Regions from separate parts of the Homo sapiens genome. Here all the other regions are linked to region 6. Evidence: promoter capture Hi-C in 16 types of primary human blood cells and fetal thymus (Javierre and others, 2016). All regions are on one chromosome and are shown on one strand. Each heading gives the region's core, a stretch centred on a gene start or on the middle of the fragment in contact. The rest is flanking DNA. Distances are from core to core; before and after follow the strand shown.

Region 1 (3,622 bases), core at 1,042-3,541, 340 kb after region 6:
GTGCCTCAGTCTCCTTATCTGTAAAATGGGGACAGTTAAATGAGTTAATACACATAAACAGAAAACACAGATATGAAGATATAGAAACGTATGTAAAAAATAGAACAGTGACTGGTACAAAGTCATTGCTACGGCAGAATTTTTTATATGTAGTTATTAATATAAGTTGCTTGAATATCTTTGGGAAGCAGTTTAAGTATAAATTATAAATATATGATAATATTAGTAAAACATATTTGCTTTAGGAATGTATAGCTTGTAATTTTTCTGATTGGTACAGAGTCATTGCTACAACAGAATTTTTTTATATATAGTTATTAATATAAATTGCTTCAAATATCTTTGGGAAGCAGTTTGAGTATAAATTGTAAATATATGATATTAGTAAAACATATTTGCTCTAGGAATGCTTAGCCTGTAATTTTTCTTTTTGATAACACAATTGACAGAACAAATTTGATTCAGGACCTCATGGTGTATGCACACACACATACACACACACACAAACACACACGCTGTATTTACCTTGAAAACAAAACTACAGCAATATTCTAATCCTAAATGTGAGTTTTTTGTATTTGGAATTCTGTGATTTGAATTGCTGCAAAATCTATGTCTACTGGACCACTGCCACTTCTTACATTTTACTGTGTTTGAATAATTTGGGTCTCAAAGGAGAATCATGGTTTAAAAAGCCAAATAAAGAGAATAATGTGTTAATAAGCTTATCTTTATTGGAGGGGTAGCCCTTTAAACTAAACATGAGCTCAGACATCAGACCGTGCTGGCAAAAGGTCACAGATCCTGATGTCTATTTTAAAAACTACTTTCCATACCTACCTACCTGGCAACAAAAATGTCAAAACAGTTCACAGACAATTAAAAACTTTTTTTGTTCTGGAAGTGTTTGATTCAAATTTCATTTCAGGGATAATGTACTATCTGGCTCTGGAGGCCTTGCCCAGGGAAACAGTGGTGAATGTGATGAGCCCAGGTTCTCCTTAGAGAAATGAGCCACCAAGAGGGTGGCCTTGGCAGGTAAATAGGTAATTATCATGCTGTGTGGAATCTCACCTTCTTGTGCTGGAAGCAAGAGAAAAGATACGTGAGCTCAGGTAGGATACCTAACTTCAAGCCACAATACACATTTCCAATATTAGCTACGGTTTGCAGAGAACTCACATTTCATGCTGTATCTGCCAGTCACAGAAACCTAGGTGAGAACAAAAACAAACCTATTAGCCACTTTTAAATGGCTGAGTTCATATTTTCAGTGAAAACACTTGGGATTGGCAATGACCACTAAATCACCTATTGCTCTGCTTCCCCCACAACTCTCAAAACATTTTTACACCCTTGGTGCTCATACCTTTGTTTACATTGTTTTCATTATGACTACTGATCGAGTAAGAAATATTTATTGAGCACCAACTCTTTGTGGTAGAAATTATAGCATATCCAGAAGTAAAGCCATAGCAAACTTAGCTTTTGCAAGACTTAAGATACTAAATACTATACTTTAAAAAAAAAGTGTAGGATGATACAAACAGAAGCACTCAGGTCTACAATTCAGACTTACCCAGCATGCACTGGCATGGGGGTAAGGTTTGAAATGACCCATGAAAGCTAGAGAATAAATGGACGTGTAAGGGATGGAAAGTGTTGCTGCGTGAGAAAGGCAGGGCAAAGGAGCTGGTAGGTAGACATAGAAGAGCAAATAGCAAAGATCTGAAGTTGGGAATGAGCTTGTCATCTTTGTACAAAATCAGGAAATCAGGCTAGAGTTGGGGCCTATACACAGGTGGGGTCAGATGAGAACCCACGCTCCCCCCAACATACCTCTCTCTTTGATGTGTCTGTGCTTGCACACATGCTGCTCAACTGTCTCCACTGTCTCCACCACCACACTGCACACAACTCAACTAATTGATGTCCTCAAATAATAGAAACCCATTTTCTAGGCTGGACGTGGTGGCTCATGCCTGTAATCTCAGCACTTCTGGAGGCCGAGGTGGGCGGATCACGAGGTCAAGAGATCAAGACCACCCTGGCTAACACGGTGAAACACTGTCTCTACTAAAAATACAAAAAACTAGAGCCAAGATGGCCGAATAGGAACAGCTCCGGTCTACAGCTCCCAGCGTGAGCGACGCAGAAGACGGTGATTTCTGCATTTCCATCCGAGGTACCGGGTTCATCTCACTAGGGAGTGCCAGACAGTGGGCGCAGGTCAGTGGGCGCGCACACCGTGCGCGAGCGGAAGCAGGGCAAGGCATTGCCTCACTCGGGAAGCGCAAGGGGTCAGGGAGTTCCCTTTCCGAGTCAAAGAAAGGGGTGACGGACGGCACCTGGAAAATTGGGTCACTCCCACCCGAATACTGCACTTTTCCGACGGGCTTAAAAAACGGCGCACAACGAGATTATATCCCGCACGTGGCTCAGAGGGTCCTACGCCCATGGAGTCTCGCTGATTGCTAGCACAGCAGTCTGAGATCAAACTGCAAGGCGGCAGCGAGGCTGGGGGAGGGGCACCCGCCATTGCCCAGGCTTGCTTAGGTAAACAAAGCAGCCGGGAAGCTCGAACTGGGTGGAGCCCACCACAGCTCAAGGAGGCCTGCCTGCCTCTGTAGGCTCCACCTCTGGGGGCAGGGCACAGACAAACAAAAAGACAGCAGTAACCTTTGCAGACTTAAATGTTCCTGTCTGACAGCTTTGAAGAGAGCATTGGTCCTCCCAGCACGCAGCTGGAGATCTGAGAATGGGCAGACTGCCTCCTCAAGAGGGTCCCTGACCCCTAACCCCCGAGGAGCCTAACTGGGAGGCACCCCCCAGCAGGGGCACACTAACACCTCACACGGCAGGGTATTCCATCAGACCTGCAGCTGAGGGTCCTGTCTGTTAGAATGAAAACTAACAAACAGAAAGGACATCCACACCAAAAACTCATCTGTACATCACCATCATCAAAGACCAAAAGTAGATAAAACCACAAAGATGGGGAAAAAACAGAACAGAAAAACTGGAAACTCTAAAAAGCAGAGCACCTCTCCTCCTCCAAAGGAACGCAGTTCCTCACTAGCAATGGAACAAACCTGGATGGAGAATGACTTTGACGAGCTGAGAGAAGAAGGCTTCAGACGATCAAATTACTCTGAGCTATGGGAGGACATTCAAACCAAAGGCAAAGAAGTTGAAAACTTTGAAAAAAATTTAGAAGAATGTATAACTAGAATAACCAATACAGAGAAGTGCTTAAAGGAGCTGATGGAGCTGAAAACCAAGGCTCAAGAACTACGTGAAGAATGCAGAAGCCTCAGGAGCCGATACGATCAACTGGAAGAAAGGGTATCAGCGATGGAAGATGAAATGAAAGAAATGAAGCGAGAAGGGAAGTTTAGAAAAAAAAGAATAAAAAGAAATGAGCAAAGCCTCCAAGAAATATGGGACTACGTGAAAAGACCAAATCTACGTCTGATTGGTGTACCTGAAAGTGATGGGGAGAATGGAACCAAGTTGGAAAACACTCTGCAGGTTATTATCCAGGAGAACTTCCCCAATCTAGCAAGGCAGGCCAACGTTCAGATTCAGGAAATACAGAGAACGCCACAAAGATACTCCTCAA
Region 2 (3,974 bases), core at 824-3,323, 290 kb after region 6:
GTGCTCTGTGAGTGTTGGCTAGATATTTTTTATGATGTATCATTATATGGTTTTCCTCTTGTGTTTTTCCTTTCCTTTCTGTAATCACTGACTCAAGGGAGGATAAATGGAGGCAGCCTGAAAATCTCCCCGACCATCATCTCCCAGGAATCTAAGCCGCAAGACCCTAGGGGATTGAAGAGCAGGAATGAGGTCTTTGCCAGGCGTAAGGGGTTCAGCAGGACTCCTCCTTTGCTCCCCCCTCCCCTAAGTGTTCCCTAGCCTAGCGGAGGGGTGGGAAGAGTAAGACCAGTGGGCCTCTCCTGGCAATGCCACAGAGGAAGGGGCAGGATCCCAGAGAAGCGGCTGCATGTCCATCCAGACAGAGCAGATGCCAGGAGTCTCCGAAGGTCCCCTACCTGAGTGGGTCCTGAATTCTTTAAGGAGCTACACTCAAATCTCAGCACTTTGGGAGGCCAAGACAAGAGGATTGCTTGAGCTCAGGAGTTCGAGACCAGCCTGGGCAACATAATGAGACTTCGTCTCTACAAAAAATTTAAAAATTAGCCAGGCATGATGGCACACACTTGTAGTCCCAGCTATTCAGGAGGCTGAGGTGGGAGGATCACTTCAGCCCTGGAGGTCAAGGCTGCAGTGAGCCACGATTGTGCCACTGCACTCCAGCCTGGGCGACAGAGTGAGACCCTGTCTCAAAAAAAGAAAAAGAAAAGAAAAAAAAGAGCTACACCCAGAGCTGTGTAGACATGGCTCTTGGTTCTTGGCAGTAACTTGATCGCCCTGCCTCATGTAATTTTGGCATTACAAGGTATTCCTGAGTTGGCACACATCTGGGAGGGGTCTGAAAGAGGAAGACTATGGTTATCATGTCTGCTTGTCTAAGAAAAAGAAACTTTCGACTTAAAACTGCTATAGGAAATGATAAATAACAGAAAAGAAAATAATTATTCTTTTCAAACATCTGAGCTGGTGACTGATTCATAAAGTACAACCAATAGGCTATCCCATGCATTTTAATCCTCCAATACCCTTATGAGGTCAAAGGCCCTCTGTCATGTGTGATTTATTCTTTCACTGATTCATTCTAGCCACAGCCACTGAGTCCCTTGGGACCCAGGCATTCTCCTTGGTGCTGAAAAGAACAGGGAACAAAACAGATGAAGTCTCTGCCCTCATAGAGCTTTCAGCCTAATGGGGTAATAAAAAAATACACAAATAAACAAACAAGATCAATACAAACTGGGATAGGCATTGTTCACATCATATCATAACCTGGATGATGTGATCAAGAATTCTTGGCCCATAAACAGGATAAACAAGATTGGGAAGGCCTCTCCAAGGAGGTATTTTATGAGCTAAGACTTCAAGCATGGGAATAACCTAGCCATGCAAAGAGTTGGGAGACAAAACAGAAAAAAACAGGAACTGCAAAGACTTGAGAACATATTTGAGAAATAAAAAGGAAGGCAGTGTAGTCAGCCTCTGAAGAGTGAAGGTGAAGACTGGGGAGGAGAGATTGGAGGGAGAAGTGAGATCATTCAGAATCTTGCAGAGCAAGACAGAGAGCTTGAATTTTATTCTTAAAACAATGAGAAGCCATGGATTAATTTTAAGTAGGGGATTTGCCTAAGACTGGTACATGGATTAAATAAATTAATATATGTAATACACTTAGAACAGTGGCTGGCAGACCAAGCACTGTAAAAACATTCTTATTTTTATCCTCATTTGTATTGTTAAAGATGATAGAGAAGCACCAGGTAGACCTGTTGAGAGGCTATTTTCATAGTCCTTTTTGGAGCTGAACCAGGGTAATGGCTGTGAAATTGAAGAGAAATTGATGTACGTAACAAAACTGTAACTCAGGCATAATAAATAGGACTTTCTGATGATCAAGAAAAAAAAAGGAATGGAGGTCTCCTTCTGGGTTTCTGTCATGTCATCTGTCAGATCCATTAATTAATCTAAAGAGGACTGCAGAAGAAACCAATTCAGGAGGAAAAAAATCAAAATTCAATTTCATTCTGTTGAGTTTGAGATGCCTATCAGATATCTAAGTGGGAACATCAAACATGTTACTATCCCTGTTGCACCATGGAGAAACTGAAGCTCCTTTACAGTGAGGAAGCTGAGATTTAGAGAGACCATGTAATCTGCTCAAAGTTGAACCGTGGTTGAGAGGTAGAGTCAAGCCTGGAATCTAGGCTAAGAACCCCTTTAAAACCAGAGATCTCATTCTCTCATAGTTAAACACCTGTAGGTGGAGCCCCAGGTTCCTTGCTGATGTAACTGGAAAACAGAATCAATGACAGCAGAACCATCAATACTGATATGGTTTGGCTCTGTGTCCCCACCCAAATCTCATCTCAAATTGGGAGGGACAGACCTCCAGGGAGGGAACTGGTGAGAAGTGATTGATCATGGGGTTGGTTTCCTCCATGCTGTTCTCATGATAGTGAGGGAGTTCTCATGAGATCTGATGGTTTAAAAGTGGCAGTTTCCCCGAGCTCTCTCTCTCCTGCTGTCTTGTGAAGAAGGGACCTGCTTCCCCTTCTCCTTCCACCATGATTGTAAGTTTCCTGAGGCCTCCTCAGCCATGCAGAACTGTGAGCTAATTAACCCTCTTTTGCTTATAAATTACCCAGTTTCAGGTAGTATCTTTATAGCAGTGTGAAAACGGACTAATACAAATACAATCATCTACAAGTCACCTGCACACTGCTGGAATTTCAGAAACCCCAGGGCAGTGCATGAGCCAGCAACGGAGGCCATAAAATGTCATCTGACTCTTGGTGGGCAGATAATTCACCTAGGCAAGAAGGAAAGGCCAAGCAAGAATTGTGTTCAGTTAAAGGGGGTGACATTAGCTTACTAGGCCTTGGTTTCCTATCTGTAAAATAGGTATGGAAACCTAACTAATACACACAGTGTTGGGTCCGATATAAAGGACTATTGAAAAAAAGAAAGAAAGAGTTGGAGCATGTGCTTCATACGCCTTCCAAGGGCTACATGTTCTTTAACCCTTACCATCAAAATAAAGTTTAAACCAGGAGGGTGGGGGAGACAGACATGAGGAGTTAATGTTTAATGGGTATAGAGTTTCAGCAAGGATAATTACAGACTGCTGGAGATGGATAGTGGTGATGGTTGCACAACAATGAGAGTATACTAATGTCACAAAACTGTACACTTAAAAATGATTAAAATGGTAAATTTTATGTTATGTATATTTTACCACAATAAAAGAAAATTTGCTTGTATTATTGAATCAAAGTTGGCTTAATATACTTTTATTGTGTTTACATCATATAGAGCTAGGCAGTGAGTCAGACTCAGTTGTTGTGCCTTCACACATGAGGGAGGACTGGTTCTTACTTGGACAGGAAAGGTGCTGGAATCAAGAAATAAGCTATAAATAAAACCATGGAGGTTGTTTTTTAACTTGAATTAGGGGCTAGATTTCAAATTGCATCTTATTTTATCTGAACAGGATCATTTTGGGCAAGCAAGCATCTGTCTGGGTTAGTTTATGATTCCCCTGAGGGCCAAGTTATGCCTTTGCCTGTCTTTTCAGTATTTTCTCAGTGCCTCACATATGAAAGTGCTGTTACATTGCCGGGAAAATTGACTAGAGAAATCTAATGATGGTATAAGTCACTGTTAGAGAAAGAAAGAGAGACAAAACTCGAGAGAGAAAAAACTAGAGCACCCACCATCCAAAACTCTCATGGAACTGAGGTAGGAGGCGGGACTTGACTCCAGAGGCAGGGTTCAGACACCGGACCAGATTGAGGACTAGCTAAAACAGGGCTGGGGCAGAAGCAGCTTTCCAATCAGACGTGCCCACCAGTGTGCCATGGCAATTTATCATTGCCATGGCAACACCCGGGAGTTACCACCCCTTTCCATGGCAATGGTCCAATGACCCCAAAATTACTACCCCTTCCCTAGAAATTTCTTAATAAACTATCCCTCAA
Region 3 (3,709 bases), core at 961-3,460, 320 kb after region 6:
TGTCAACAGTATTCTTTTCCTTTATTATTTTTAAATAGCTCTGAGTTACCCCAGGAGGACTTGTGAGTGCCCTCCCCAGAGGTGTTGAAAAGAACCCGGTTTAGTTGTGCATTTACTTGTGTTTACTGGATTTCATGCAAATTAGGGGTGAGGAGAGACTAAATGTTTTCTTTTGATCCTTCCTATGTTTGCCTCTAGGCATAATATTTTGGACACTTTTCTGAGTTTGCTTCAATTTTCACCCACTCCTTTCCCCATAGATTTTGTCTCCTTGCCTTTTGTTTTGTTTGGTTTTGTTTTTGATGGGGTTTCACTCTGTCTCCCAGCCTGGAGTATAGGGGTGCCATATGCCTCACAGCCTCGACCTCCTGGGCTTAAGGGATTCTCCCACCTCAGCCTCCTGAGTAGCTGGAACCACAGGCATGCACCACCACACCTGGCTATATTTTTAAATTTTTTGTAGAGATGGGGTCTCCCTATGTTGCCCAGGTTGGTCTCCAACTCCTGGGCTCAAGCGATCCTCCTGCCTCAGCTTCCCAAAGTGCTGGGATTCCAGGCATAAGCAAGGGCACCAGGCTCTTTCCTTGATTTTTATAACTACTTTCCTATAAATAAGAAACAGCTCCACGGCAGTTCATTTGCCTAGTCAATTCTTCCTCTCAGGCTTCTTGATATTTGGGTTGGCAAAGAATAAAAATATAAAGCTCCCAAACCTGTAAGGGATTCTAAAAGTCTAAAATTCCCTGAAACAACAGAGGCACAATAGTTTCCCACTTGATAATGTGACCTTCGTCGCCTTCTACAGCCCTGGAATAGAGGAATGAGGCAGCAGGTCTATGTTGTGGCACCAGAAGGAAGGATGGATAAGATCTGCTGCATTTCCCAGTTACAGGCAGCTGATGGGGAGCAGAGCTGGTCAGCTGGTCATATTCAGTAGCTCTTCGTGTTTCATGAAAATGTGTAGAACCCTTAAACACTACTCTAAAAATAGGCCTATCCCTTGACTTCATCATGGTAAAGACCATAAATGAATCTTAGTCTACCAACTCAGATAAAGAGGAAACAGCACATGTCCACTTCTTTTAAATCCACTTAAATTAGCCTAAAGAGAGAATTCAGTCTTAGCCATTATCAGGCACCCTTCCCTCCTTAAGGGCACAATTGTTCATAAAACTCATGCAATGTCTAGACAATGGAAAGGGAAGTTCTTCCAGCCATTCATTGCTACATAACAAAATATCCCAAAAGTGCAGTGGCATAAAACAGAAAAGACTCATATTATTATTATTATCATTATTATTATTTTGGGAGACAGGGTCCCATTGTTTCACCCAGGCTGGGGATCAGTGGTGCAATCATAGCTCACTGCAACTTCAAATAAAAGACTCATATAGGCCGGGCACAATGGCTCACGCCTGTAATCCCAGCGCTTTGGGAGGCTGAGGCAGGTGGATCACCTGAGGTCAGGAGTTTGAGACCAACCTGGCCAACATACTGAAACCTCATCTCTACTAAAAATACAAAACTTAGCCAGGCCTGGTGGTGGGCGCCTGTAATTCTAGCTACTTAGGAGGCTGAGGCACGAGAATCTCTTGAACCCAGGAGGCGGAGGTTGCAGTGAGCCAAGATCGCATTACTGCACTCCAGCCTGGACAACAGAGTGAGACTTTGTGTCAAAAAAAAAAAAAAAAGACTCATATGAGTCCATTTGTATGGAATTTCTAGAAAAGAAGGAACTGCAGAGTCAGAAAGCAGATCTGAAGTTGTCTGGGATTGGGATTAGGAGAGGAAACTAATGACAAAAAGCACAATGAAATTTTTGGGTTGATGGACATGTCTTAAAATACCTTGATAAAGCTCATTTAAAAAAAAATTAGTGGCATAAGACAACAACCATTTCAGTACAATCATGAATGCTGTGGTTAGGAATTCAGTTGGGGAACCCTGTGCATGCTTGTCTCTGTTCCACAATGTCTGGGGACTCAGATGGGAAGAAGAAGAGCGAGAGGCTGGAATCATCTGGAAGCTGTTCAGGATGGCTGCAAAACTGAGCCTGGCCAATGCTGTCGACTGGAGTGCTTACACACGGCCTGTCCACCGAGCTTGGGTTTCTTACAGCATAGCAGCCAGCTGGGTCCTGGAATGGAGCACCCCTGGAAGGAGTGCCCAGAGAACTTACTTGCCAAAGACCAAAACTGACATAGTTAGGCTCTGTGTCCCTACCCAAATCTCATCTTGAATTATAATCCCCATATTCCCCATAATCCCCATGTGTCAAGGGAAAGACCACGTGGAGGTAATTGAATCATGGGGGCTTTTTCCCCCATACTGTTCTCTTGATAGTGAGTGAGTTCTCATGAGATCTGATGGATTTATAAGAGGCTCTTCCCCCTTCACCAGGCACTTCTTCCTGCTGCCTTGTGAAGAAGGTGCCTTGCTTCCCCTTTGCATGATTGTAAGTTTCCTGAGGCCTCCCTAGCCATGCTGAACTGTAAGTCAATTAAATCTATTTTCTTTATAAATTACCGAGTCTCGGGCAGTTCTTTATAGCAGTATGAAAATGGACTAATACAAAAGCAGAAGCTGCACGACTTCAGGTTACAAGCCAATCTCTAGGCCAGCCCAGATGCAAGGGGAGAGAAACTAGACCTCACCCCTCTATAGAGTGTGGCAGGGCCACATCAAAGAAGGGCATGTAGGATGGAAGATATTGTGGAGTCCACCTCTGGCAAACAGAATCTGCTACCAGACCCTATTCTTCTCACTGTCACAAGCCCCAAGGTCTCCCTGTGGGTGAACAGGCTTTTCTTTTTCAAGGGGTAACAGAGACCATTTACAAAGAGAAATCCTCATGCTAAAGTCCTGCCTTCCCAACAGCACCAGAAAGCCTTTTGCCTCCTGAGGTCTTGCTGAGACATTTCACTTTATAGGCACAAGTCCCATCACTTGAGAAACTGCTGGCCTCTGACCACACCTCTGATTTAGAAACTGCACCTTGCTGCTGCTGTCACTGTTCAGCTCTCCAATGCACTCGTCCCCCTTCCCATTCCCTCAAGGACACCTCAGGAAATGTCTTCAATGGGCTTTACATTTCATAAAATACAAAAAGAGGAGGCTCTCAAACAGCAGCATTGATTATGGGTTCTGTAAAATCTCTAAAGCTGGGGAAAGAGAGATAGAGAGATTGGGTGAGATGGAGAGAGAACCTGTCATTTTTTTTCCAACTGGGGAAGGCAAGTGACAGAACAGATCACACATCAATTTTCCAGTAAATCATTCTAGCTCAATTGCCGAGTGTACACGTGTGCACAAGCGTGCATGCACGAGATTTATAAAAGGCTCTGCAGTAACTTGCATGCATTTTTCAAATAAAAGTACTGCTTAGAAGCAGAATGTAATAAATAAGGAGGAGGGGAGGAGCTGGTTTCACCTAGAGAAGAAATATTTAATTTTTTGTAATTTTTTGGATAGTTAATGCCATATTTCATACTTGTGGGAGATAACACTCTAAATTTTTTTAATCCACAAATACTTTCAACATAACCCATCAATGACAGTTTAGAGATCATTTTTAAACAAACTCACTATCATATATATATATATATATATATATATATATATATATATATATATATATTTATTTATTTATTTTTTGAGACAGAGTCTTGCTCTGTCACCTAGGCTGGAGTGGAGTGCAATGATGTGATCT
Region 4 (3,964 bases), core at 1,344-3,843, 460 kb after region 6:
TTAGCTTTGCCCTCAGCGCACAGCTTAAGTGTTGAAAGCTCAATGGATCCTCTGCCTTTTCATTTGAGGTGGCTGCCTTCTGCTAGAGAGGGTAAAGGGTTAGTGTGACAGCCTTTTGCATCCACACTCGTGGCACCCAAGCTGTTGTCCAGCATCCAGGAGAAATGAGGTCACACAAACGAATTGAAGGATGGTAAACATGGGGGATTTTATTGCCGATTAAAGTGTCTCTCAGCAGGAAGGGGAGCTGAAAGGGGGATGAGGCGGAAAGATCATCTTCCCCTGAAGTCCAGCTATCTCTGGCCGAATTCTTCACTGTCAAGCTGTCCCTCTGAAGTCAAACCACTTCTCTCCAATGTCCAGCCATAGTCTCCGATGTCCAGCTGCTTCTCCTCTCTGCCACCTGAGTTCTGGGGTTTTTATAGGCACAGGATAAGGGGCAGGGCAGGCCTTGGGTGGTTTTGGAAATGGCAACATTTGAGCAGGAAAACAAGGATGTAAGTTCTACCTTTGGGCAGCAGTTTCAGGCTTTTCGGCTTGAGGGTGGGTCCCCCGCAAGGGCCCCACCCTCTTCTGCCCAGAGTTTCCCTGCCTCCTGGGGGCAGGGAATCAGTGAGGACTCTTTGCAGAGGCCCGAGGCTGCACAGGGCATCACATCGTGAGGGGGCTGAGCATGCTAGCTCCCATCTCTCTTCCTCTTCTTACTAAGCTACCATTCCCACTTTAATGACAGCTCATTGATCCATGAATAAATCCAGGCACCACCTAAAGGCCACACCTCTCAATACTACCACATTGGAGATTACATTTCAACATGAATTTTGGAGGAGACATTCAAATCATAGCATACAGAAACCAAAAGATTGACATTTGAAGATGTTCTAATCTAACTACTCTAATATGCTGTCTCCAAATTATCAATGAATTTATCTTTAAAGGTAAACATCTAAGTAAACTAATATTATTGTCACTGGGCCATTCTATGGCCATTTGCTGTAAGGACACTGTTTCTGAATTTCTTTTTGTCCAACTTATCTTTCAGTTGATTGTATTTTCAGCCTTGACAGCTAACAGGATGGCTTGCTTATTATCTAATTTTAATAAAACCTCAAGATTGTAGTAGAGAAAAAGCAGGTTCTGGGGTCTCCAGTTCAAGGTCCCATTGTCATTTCCTTCCTGAGAGTTAAGGAAGGGGTTTGGAGAAGGAAATTCTCATGAATGATGCTCGATTGATCCTTAAATGTGTTTACTCTGGTTTCAGCAGCATCAGTTCTCCCAGCACAGAGACTAAATAATACTTTGCCATTTCATTCTTCTCCCAAGCAGATAGCCTTAGGAATGTATTTACTGCCACCTTGTGGAATGGAAATAAACTTAAAGGGCCTAGTCTAGTCAAATTTTGTTCCCAACTTCTCCTTTTTTGATCATTTTGCTTTCTCTGGGAAGGAACTTCTAGGCTGATCTTGTTACAGGAGCCTCTTGCACCTGGTGGGAGGTGAGGGGGAAGACTCAGTTTTCTTCATACACTGTCATTCTCTGTCAAAATGGAGCTATAGCATAGAAAAATCAAAAGCTTTCAGTCCTTGGAAAACTCCTAAACCTCACTGACAGTGCCAGGAATTGAACCATAATCCCAGATGATTATATTTACAAGAAAAGGCCTACCCATAATCTCTGCAAAAGATAATATTATTCACATATGTTTTGTATAGAAATCCACATACATTGGCTTAGCATGTTTGGATTTTTATCTTAGACTAGAAAATCAGCCTGACCTAACAGAAGTGTGTAAAACTGCCTGCCCTACAATATATCACATCATTTGCTTTTAATGCTGTGCATGGTCTGGTTTATTTTCCATTGCATTTTTCTGTTGCAAAGACATTTCTATAGCTGTGTATATGTCTAGAGATGGCTCTAAAAAAAGGACTGACTTAAAAACAAGACTGTACCCATGTTGGGATAAACATATCTGTTTTACCTCAGAGTGAATTATCTCATTATGAGAAAGTTTAAGTATGTTAAATATACACCAAAGTTTTTGTTGTTGTTGGTTTGAGACTGGGTCTCAATCCGTCATCCAGGCTGCAGTGCAGTGGCAGCATCACAGCTCACTGCAGCCTCAACCTCCTGGGCACAAGTGATCCTGCCATCTCAGCCTCCTGAGTAGCTGGGACTACAGGCACACACCACCACACCCAGCTAATTATTTTGTATTTTGTAGAGATATGGTTTCATCTTCTTGCCCAGACTAGTCTCGAAGTCCCGCACTCAAGCAATTCACCCATCTTGGCCTCCCAAAGTGCCGGGATTACAGGCATGAGCCACTACACCCGGCCTACACCTAAATGTTTTAAAGGTTTAATTATAAAAACTGCATCTTTTTAATTTTAAAAATGCACAACTTTTTCGCTTGGAAGAAGCTACTTTTGTACAGCTCTTCTTCATAATACCTGAGTAATAACACGTACTACTGCAGCTTTAGCCTGAACCATCACAATAGTTATAATACTGGACAGCAAGGACCTTAAAGCTAAACAGATAAAATATAGGAAGTAACTAAAACCATCTTGCAGCAAAACTTCTTCCTTCATGAAATCTTTTTTTTTTTCACCAAAAGAAGGAATTAACTCTAACTAGGGTTGTAATTTTTGCCACACGATTCTCTTTATATGCCAAAAGGTTCTGGGGCTGAAAGTTCAGGAGAGGAGGGACAGATGACTGAGGCTCTCTCGGGAATGCTTGGGAATCTGGAATACTGAAGCATGAATATTTGGGAGAGAAAAGGTCTGACACAAGGCAGGACCCAGAAAGGGAGCTGAGCCAAGTTCTCCAAGAGCCATGTAAGTCCCCAGGCTCAAGTTTTCAGAGTATTGTCAAAGCTAGAGAGACAGAAAGGGTCAGAAGCCCAGGAGTGAGAGAAGCAATGCGAGGAAAATAAAGACAAAGAGAAGAGTAGACTGAAAAATAAAATGCATTCTTGGTACTAAGTGATTGATCCTACTTGTTTTTTTGTTTTGTTTTGTTTTTTAATGTCTAAGTCCTTAAGAAGAGAAATAAAAGAGAATCCAACTGGAAGTAAAGAAGATCCATGAGATTTCTCTGAGGAGAGAAAGTAAAGTTAGTCACTAAATATTTACTCAGAATGTTGTGGTCCTTGGTGCTGTTCACCAAATATGTCATCTCTCCCGTGCTCTGAGGGAAATTGCACTTCCTGGTGCCCGTGCGGCTGAGTGGGGCCATGTGACTAGTTTTGGTTGATGAGTAGAGAGCAGAAATGACATGTGTCACTTCCAGGACAGGACATTTGATTGTTGCAAGACTTAGAGTTCTTTATTCCCTTTGGGGCAGTGGCCTGAAATTCATGGTGGCTCGGCCCACCTGGACCTGTGAGAGAATGCCACGAGCACAGTCTGTGCTGGACATGTGATGTAAGTAACAAACAAATCTTTATGGTTTAGGCCACTAACATTTTGGAGATGTTTGTCACTGCAGCATGACAAGGTCAATCCTGAGGTATACCTGCATTAAGGAGACAGTATGATCATCTCTTTGAAGTATATAAAGTATTAACATGGTCCTTATGCTTGAGAAATGAATGCCTAAAGCTTGTAGTGGACATGAAGAGAAGGTATTAGATAGTGCCAAGAAAATCTTACATTTAAAAGCTGTTTTCTGGCCAGGTGCAGTGGCTCTTGCCTGTAATCCCAGCACTTTGGGAGGCTGAGGCTGGCTGATCACTTGAGACCAGGAACTCGAGACCAGCCTGGCCAACATGGTGAAACCCCGTCTCTACTAAAAGATACAAAAAATTAGAGGGCCTGTGATCCCAGCTACTCGGGAGGCTGAGGCAGGAGAATCGCTTGAACTGGGATGCAGAGGTTGCAGTGAGCCAAGATTGCACTACTGCAGTCCAGCCTGGGTGACAGAGTGAAACTCCTTCTCAAAAACAGACAAATAAATA
Region 5 (4,137 bases), core at 120-2,619, 370 kb before region 6:
ATCTAATGCCTGATGATCTGTCACTGTCTCCCATCACCCCCAGATGGGACCATCTAGTTGCAGGAAAACAAGCTCAGGGCTCCCACTGGTTCTACATTATGGTGAGTTGTATAATTATTTCATTATATATTACAATATATAATAATAGACATAAAGTGCACAATACATGCAATGTGCTTGAATCATCCCCAAACCATCCCTCCACCCTTGTCCATGGAAAAATTGTCTTCCACAAAACCAGTTCCTGGTGCCAAAAAGGTTGGGGACCTCCAAGTTACAGGATACAACTGTTTTTATTATCATAGCAGACACTTACTACTGTTTTTCATCCTGCTTTATATATTTTTATTAATTTAATCCTCACGACAGTGCTATAGGGTGGATACTCCCCACTTTATAGATGAAGACACTGAGCTACTAAACGCCAGGCTGGCTCTGGGGTCAACTCTCTTAACCACTCTACCAGCCTGTCTCTCAAAATGAAAAGCAATTCATTTGTTTTATTCCCCTTTGTTTTTATACTAGAAAAATGAAATGCAATATCTCCTTCCAAACCTTCTGGAAAATTTGGATATTAAATCTTCTCAACTCAAGGAAAGGGAAACTAGTTTCACTTTGGGGAAGATTTTTGGGTCTAATGGGCTATCAACTCCAGTGTGAGAGTACTGGAAGAAAAATGAGTGTGAGGTGCAAATGCCTTTGGAAGTAAGAAAGGATCTTCAAGACAAAATGAGGTCAGTGAATGGGGGAAGCCAAGGAGGGAAACTGCAGAGGGGATGCATAGGACCTGGGACTTATCCAAAAGAAGTTGCTTGAGGAATAAGAGAGTTCTTATTCTGGGAAGATAATATGGTTTTGATCTGTGTCCCCACCAAATCTCATGTTGAATTGTAATCCCCATTGTTGAAGGTGGGGCCTGGTGGGAGCTGTTTGGGTCATGGGGGCAGATCCCTCATGGTTTGGTATTATCCATCCTCGAGATAGTGAGTAAGTTCTCTCAAATCTCGTTGTTTAAAAAAGTGTGACACCTCTTCCCTCCTGCTCTTGCTCCAGCTTTCACCATGTGAAGTGCCTGCTCCCATTTCACCTTCCGCCATGACTAAAACTCCCTGAGGCCTCCCCAGAAGCTGAGCAGATGCCGGCATCATGCCTGTATAGCCTACAGTACTATGAGCCAATTAAACCTCTTTTCTTTATAAATTACCCAGGTTTAGGTATTTCTTTCTAGCAATGTAAGAACAGCCTAACACAGAAGACTTGGGTGGGTGTTTGGATGTAGCCAAAGACAGGTATGAATGACAAAGTAGCTTGTCACTTCTGTGACTCTCAATGAGCCATGCCTCCTGGCATTCACACCCTTGTGCTGTCTCTTCCTCTTGATCTGATCCAGGTCTGTTAGAATGCTGGTAGAGGGGACCCAGTGCCAGGTGTGGACTTCAGCTTTAAGAAGGTTTGGCCATTTCTGATTGTGTATCTTGGAAGGATCGAACTTTGTGGAGAGAGAGAAGCCCATAGATTGCGTGGAGACTGAAGAACCCAGCCAACTGTGAGAATTGAGGCTACAGACTTCTGACTCCCATAAAGTGTCTCTGTCAGCCTTCAGCTACTTGAGCCGATCTAATTGAGGGACCAGATGTATGAGTGAAGAAGTCATCTTGGACATTCTAGCCTCGGCAGACATTGCATGGGACACAGACAAGCCACCCTCTGTGTGCTGTCTGAAATCCTGGTCGCAGAATCATGAGCAATGATAAAATGGTTGTTGGGAGAGACCAGCCACTAAGTTTTGGGTAGTTTGTTTCACAGCAATTGATAGCTAAACAAACAAACAAACAAACAAAATTCAGAAAAACCATGCATCATTTGCATGCCCAGGAGCTTCAGAGAAAGGGAGGCTTCATCTGCGCAGACCTAGCCCCTTCTCTTGATTCCAGCTCGGTGGATCTTAGTGAGATCTTCATTAGCATCCTTCATCTTACCTGTTGGTCACCTAGCTGTAGTGATGCCATAGACATTGCCTACATTCTCCCTGGTCACCCCATATAGACAACCCTCTCCTGCTCTTCTTGGGATATTCATAAGTGCAAACAAGTGGAGGGGGTGAAGACTTGTACGTCTGGTGGGAAAGTGTGGTAGTTCATTTTATGTTTTAACTTGGCTGGGCCACTGTACTTGGATATTTGGTCAAACATTATTCTGGATGTTTCTGTGAAGGTGTTTTTTGGATGACATTAATGCTTAAATTGGTGGATTTTGGGTAAAGCAGATTTCCCTTTATAATGTGGGTGGGTCTCATCTAGTCAATTGAAGACCTTAACAGAGCAAAGACTGACCACCCCCATTCCATCTTGTTGAGCAATAACGGATTCTGCCAGCAGACTGCCTTCAGACTCAAACTGCAACTTCCCTGCATCTCTAGCCTAGCGGCCACCACCATCAAATTTTTAACTCACCAAGCCTCCATAGTTGTGCAAGCCTATTTCTTAAAATGAATCTTTCTCTTTCTCTGTATGCATATCCTGTTGGTTCTGCCTCTCTGGAGAACGCTGACCAATAAGGATGGTGAGACTCCTTGCATATATTCTTTGTGTTGGTCAATAGAATATGCTCGAGACTGTCTAAGCTGGCACAGTAGTGAACGACTCTCTGTTACATGTATTAGAACAATTATTGGATTGAGAATTTGGAGCTCTGGGTCAGCCTCTGGCTCTGTTCCTCTCAATCTTAGGAAAACCAATCAACCTTCCTGGGCCTCAGTTTCATTAAGGCTATAGCTCTCAAAACTTTGTGTAATTTAAATATGGTTATTAGGATGAAATAACAATGGGGCCATTGTTACTGCAATAATGAGTGCTTAATCATGGCCCAGGTGGGGACCATATAATAAGCTTTTTAAAAATTTTTAATAAAGAGTTTTAAAAAGTGGGTATATTTTGCACTTTCTACTTTCTGCAGCTTAAGTTGTATGAGCTGAGTAGAAGTAGATTCTGGGGGTTACCATACTTAACCAATTACCCAAGGACATTAACTGGCACACCTGTTCACATTTACCCTTTTATGGCTTGAACTCAGAGCCAATAAAATTACAGTTTACCCAGTTCATTTTCATAATGCATCGATTGCTTTTAATAATACATTTTCTTCCAAGTGTCTGAGTGGACTGGGGATAATGGTCACTTCAGTGTCAGAGTCCACAACTTAAAGGAAAAGCCAATCCGATTCTCTTTTACTTAAGAGGCCTGACCCCTAGGAGATGGTGGCCTTTGTGCCTGGCCTGTTTGCTTTCTGGTTTTAGTGCAGGTTTGCTAGAGTGCTTACTGCTCTGTGTAAGCACGGTAGCCCCTCGGCCCTAGCAGAGCATTGAGGAGAAATGTGGTGGTTCTGTGCACTCCCAGAGCAGTGTCTCAGGTCATTAAGTGGTCACTGAGGAGGGCTGGCTTGGGTCACTTTTACGATATAAAGTAGCTGTGACCTGGAGCCTGTGAATACAGGAGTTTTCCAAAGTGACGTGGACACAGACTTTGCAGTTAACACTTCCTAAGTACTTTCTGACTCCCAGGAAGATCCCTTTGGTCTTGCTTGCTGGGATCCAGTCTCTGGACAAACACCGATGGTGGATTGATTGCTGCTGTAACATGTGGAGTTCAAGAACCACAGAGATTTAAGACTAGCAAGGCTGTGACCTTAGAAATCCTGGGTTTAGTGGTTTTCAAACTTATTTTGAACTGTGGAGCCTTTTGTTCAGAAGAAATGTGGGGCAGAGGCACAATATGGAAGGCAGGCAGAAGTCTGCACATCAGGTTGAAGTTGCCAAGGGTAGGGGGGTAAAGACCACTACCTCCTGGGGCTCCTCCTCAACCCTCACAAAGACCCCAAGGATGGAGCCTCTGAGGACCAGTGGTGTGGTCCAGCTTCTTCCTTCCACATATGAAGAAATTGAGGGTCTTCCCCCAAGCACTCAGTGAGGGAGTGGAGCAGACTGGGGTATTTCTTCCAGAGGCTTCTCCCTGAGGAGTCTCTCTACTGCCATCACTCTGCATTTACCCACAGCTTGCAAGAGTTGCAGCATTTTGGTTTATCTGTCCTGTTGTAAACCGTGGTAATGTCTTCTCATGATCTTCTGGAAACAGTTCTGAG
Region 6 (3,755 bases), core at 402-2,901:
GAGGACAACTCCAAATAATAGAGAAAAAAAAAGAGACAGAGAGCCAGGGATATGGTTGTTTTGATGTGCCATGAAGTTGCAGCCTTTCTGGATTTTTTTAGTATCGATTTATATTGCTGTTTGTCTACCAATACTCAAATCAGAGCAAGACGGTCCGCCTTACCTCAGTCTGGCTCTTTTAAGGTTTGATTTTGGTTTTGGGGACTGCAGAGGTGCAGCTTCCCACGGCAGACCAAGCGCCTCTGAGGAACGCAGCAGCTTCAGCAGGTACAGGAAGATTTCCCGCAGCCGGAGGAATCTCCTAGTGCTGGGCCTCCGGCTGTGACTTTTGCCATTTCAAATTCACTTGGCCTCTAGGGAGAGGCAGACAGCCCGACGCTGAGCGCGTCGGAGCCCCGGCTCCCTCTGCTTCTGGAGAGGAGATTTAGCCTTAATTTTTGTGACAGATGGAGTTGATAGTCTCTCCACGGAAAGGGGAGGAAAAAAGCGCCAGTTTTTGACAGGCCGCAGACGCCCGCTGCCTCTGGTGGCGGAAGGCTGCGTTGCGCCCCAGTTAAGGTAGCTCGGAAACTCCCTCGCCGAGAAGGCAGAGGTTTCCTCTGCAGAGCAGCCTCCCTTAAATATACTGAGGGGCTGAAACTTACACTTTAATATAAACCTTTGGTGCGTGCCCATTTATTCCGTCTTCTGTCCTGTGACTGCGGCCAGGTGGTAATTGCTCGACATTCCTGAATATTTTTAATGCTAGTTAAATTTTTTCATTATTGCACGTGTTGCAAGCTTATCTTCCTAAGAAATTATTTCGGTTGATTGGATTTCGGTCTTGCAATTTGAAAACGATGCCTGGCGCACGGGCGGTACCTGCCAGATGGCCTAGCTGGGGCTGGGGGGTGGCGGGCGGGTTGTAAGCATCTCATCAACATCTCCCTAATAAAGTGTGTGCTTCTTTCTTGTATGCTTCTTTAAAACAGTTTCAGTCTCACATTTTATCTCTGGATTCTCCCCTTCCCCTCTGTGGTGATCAAGACCCAAAGACAGGGAGCCTGGAAGATAAACTGAGTTCTGAATCCAGTCGAAAGCACAGATGGGGGCCAGCGAGAATTAATAAAACTACAAAAAAAAAAAAAAAGAAAAAAAAAACAAACAAAAAAGGCCCGTGGCTGAGCCGGATGCAAACAGCTGCCCCTAAGCCCTGCCCGCTGGTTCTGTGCGCGAGCTGGGGCTGCATATCCGAGCCTCCTTAAGAGTAGGAGGAGCTCCGGGCCTCCGTCAGGCTCCCTAAGCCGTTCCTTTCAAGCCCTGAATGCCTGAATGTGAGCTGCCCACCACCCTCCCGCCCTCCCCCACTCCGCAACCCCACTCCAGCGGCTCGTAAAAAAAAAAAAAAAAACTTTCAACAACAACAGGCAGGACCAATAGCATCTCGAAAAGCCGGGAAAGGGGGCCGAGCAAAGGGCGAAAGAGAGTGGAGAAAGGAGAAAGCGGGCAGGCTCGGAGCGCGCGGGGCCGGGGCTCGGCGAGCCGGAGGAGCGTTGCTAATGTTTTTGTTTGTTTGCTTTTCCATGCATGCATAATGAGGGGGCACCGCGGCACCACGCGGGGGCTCCCGGCCCACTTTTGTATTTAAAGCCTCGCTGCTAACGAGTCTGCAGCCGGGCTCAGCGGATCCGCTCCCCGGGCTCTTGGTCACCCGAGAAGCTGCCGCCGAGTGAAGCCAGGGAGCCGCTCTCCGGCAGCGCCGACTTTCTTGTTCTCCCCGCGCTTCCCGGAAAGAGCTCCCCGGAGCTCTGCGGAGGCCGGGGTTGCCGCGGGCGGAGGGGGAGGGGACGCGGGGCGGCCGGGCCGCGGGAAGGCGGGCAGCGCGCGGACGCCGGGCCAGGAAGCGGCGCGATGCGAGAGACCGCGGCGGCGGTGGCGGCGGCGAGGCACTGAGCCCAGGAGGAAGGAGCCGCCGCGGCCGCAGCGCGAGCAGCCGGCACGGGGACAGCCGGCCGCACAACGGATCTGCAGGCGCGGAGCAAAATGCACCCGCCGCGCCGCGCGGTCCTGCAGCCCCGCCACGGCCCCGCGGCCCGCACCCCCCCGGGGCGACAGTGAGCCTCTCCCGCCACCACCGGGGGCCGAGCGGAGGGCTCTCGGGTGGGAGAGCGGGACCAGATCTCGACAGCTGTTCATTTCCAGGAAGCCACCGCAGCCAGAGCGAAAGGGGACCTTCTGCCACCAGCGGGGCATCAGCCAGCGGCGCGCATGGATTTATGAAGACACTCATGCAAGAAGTGGGCAGGACTTGGACAAACTTTTCCACCGGCTCCGCGTCCGCCGCTCCCCGCGCCTCGTCTCCTTTCCCCTCCTCTCCCGGCGGCCGCCGCTGCCCGCGATGGTGGCCGCGCTGCTGGGCGGCGGCGGCGAGGCCCGCGGGGGGACAGTGCCGGGCGCCTGGCTGTGCCTGATGGCGCTGCTGCAGCTGCTGGGCTCGGCGCCGCGGGGATCGGGGCTGGCGCACGGCCGCCGCCTCATCTGCTGGCAGGCGCTGCTGCAGTGCCAGGGGGAGCCGGAGTGCAGCTACGCCTACAACCAGTACGCCGAGGCGTGCGCGCCGGTGCTGGCGCAGCACGGCGGGGGCGACGCGCCCGGGGCCGCCGCCGCCGCTTTCCCGGCCTCGGCCGCCTCTTTCTCGTCGCGCTGGCGCTGCCCGAGTCACTGCATCTCGGCCCTCATTCAGCTCAACCACACGCGCCGCGGGCCCGCCCTGGAGGACTGTGACTGCGCGCAGGACGAGAACTGCAAGTCCACCAAGCGCGCCATTGAGCCGTGCCTGCCCCGGACGAGCGGCGGCGGCGCGGGCGGCCCCGGCGCGGGCGGGGTCATGGGCTGCACCGAGGCCCGGCGGCGCTGCGACCGCGACAGCCGCTGCAACCTGGCGCTGAGCCGCTACCTGACCTACTGCGGCAAAGTCTTCAACGGGCTGCGCTGCACGGACGAATGCCGCACCGTCATTGAGGACATGCTGGCTATGCCCAAGGCGGCGCTGCTCAACGACTGCGTGTGCGACGGCCTCGAGCGGCCCATCTGCGAGTCGGTCAAGGAGAACATGGCCCGCCTGTGCTTCGGCGCCGAGCTGGGCAACGGCCCCGGCAGCAGCGGCTCGGACGGGGGCCTGGACGACTACTACGATGAGGACTACGATGACGAGCAGCGCACCGGGGGCGCGGGTGGTGAGCAGCCGCTGGACGACGACGACGGCGTCCCGCACCCACCGCGCCCGGGCAGCGGCGCTGCTGCATCGGGCGGCCGCGGGGACCTGCCCTATGGGCCTGGGCGCAGGAGCAGCGGCGGCGGCGGCCGCTTGGCGCCCCGGGGCGCCTGGACCCCACTCGCCTCCATCTTGCTGCTGCTGCTTGGGCCGCTCTTTTAGCCCTCGCGCCCCCCGCCGTTGGCTGCGGGAGAGCCCGCGTCCCACTCCCGTGCTCGCCTCGACCCCGCGCCGGGCACCTGTGGCTTGGGACAGATAGAAGGGATGGTTGGGGATACTTCCCAAAACTTTTTCCAAGTCAACTTGGTGTAGCCGGTTCCCCGGCCACGACTCTGGGCACTTCCCCTGAAGCTCCTCTCCGGAGCTTGACTTCTTGGACCTCCTCCCCCGCCCCAATTCCAAGCTCCAGAAACTCCCAACTCGTCTGCCGTCCAGAAAGCTAGCTGCAGTGTTCAGGACGTCCGGGAGGAAGCAAGCATGTGGGGGACAGAACAGTAGTCCT

The links. Contacts are between HindIII fragments. The CHiCAGO score rates a contact against its expected background, and 5 or more counts as called.
Region 1: a contact is called between a fragment that was not itself captured here and the fragment with the promoter of GAS1 in region 6, in 1 of 17 cell types (M1 macrophages). The highest score is 5.1, in M1 macrophages.
Region 2: a fragment that was not itself captured here is called in contact with the fragment with the promoter of GAS1 in region 6 in 1 of 17 cell types (M2 macrophages); the score reaches 5.7 in M2 macrophages.
Region 3: a contact is called between a fragment that was not itself captured here and the fragment with the promoter of GAS1 in region 6, in 2 of 17 cell types (M0 macrophages and M2 macrophages). The highest score is 7.5, in M0 macrophages.
Region 4: a fragment that was not itself captured here is called in contact with the fragment with the promoter of GAS1 in region 6 in 5 of 17 cell types (M0 macrophages, megakaryocytes, M1 macrophages and 2 more); the score reaches 9.9 in M0 macrophages.
Region 5: a fragment that was not itself captured here is called in contact with the fragment with the promoter of GAS1 in region 6 in 1 of 17 cell types (M2 macrophages); the score reaches 5.9 in M2 macrophages.

What each region holds. Positions count from the first base shown.
Region 1 is chr9:86,610,529-86,614,150 of GRCh38, reverse strand. No RefSeq gene overlaps it. Among named protein-coding and RNA genes, the nearest start is that of LINC02834, 96 kb to the left of the region's middle. The HindIII fragment of the contact is 3,130 bases long and covers 727-3,622 here.
Region 2 is chr9:86,652,467-86,656,440 of GRCh38, reverse strand. No RefSeq gene overlaps it. Among named protein-coding and RNA genes, the nearest start is that of LINC02834, 54 kb to the left of the region's middle. The HindIII fragment of the contact is 4,916 bases long and covers 1-3,974 here.
Region 3 is chr9:86,628,298-86,632,006 of GRCh38, reverse strand. No RefSeq gene overlaps it. Among named protein-coding and RNA genes, the nearest start is that of LINC02834, 78 kb to the left of the region's middle. The HindIII fragment of the contact is 7,252 bases long and covers 1-3,709 here.
Region 4 is chr9:86,484,833-86,488,796 of GRCh38, reverse strand. All of the region lies in intron 1 of LOC102724080 (a long non-coding RNA gene), which reads right to left. Among named protein-coding and RNA genes, the nearest start is that of TUT7, 130 kb to the right of the region's middle. The HindIII fragment of the contact is 2,035 bases long and covers 1,576-3,610 here.
Region 5 is chr9:87,316,427-87,320,563 of GRCh38, reverse strand. No RefSeq gene overlaps it. Among named protein-coding and RNA genes, the nearest start is that of LINC02872, 170 kb to the right of the region's middle. The HindIII fragment of the contact is 3,042 bases long and covers 1-2,890 here.
Region 6 is chr9:86,945,402-86,949,156 of GRCh38, reverse strand. It overlaps GAS1 (growth arrest specific 1), which reads left to right and starts at 1,651. Exons shown (of 1, transcript NM_002048.3): 1 at 1,651-3,755. The coding sequence starts at 2,378. The coding sequence ends at 3,415. GAS1RR (GAS1 adjacent regulatory RNA) reads right to left here and starts at 459. Exons shown (of 7, transcript NR_049794.1): 1 at 164-459. RefSeq lists silencers at 2,441-2,520, 2,591-2,660. The HindIII fragment of the contact is 4,442 bases long and covers 783-3,755 here.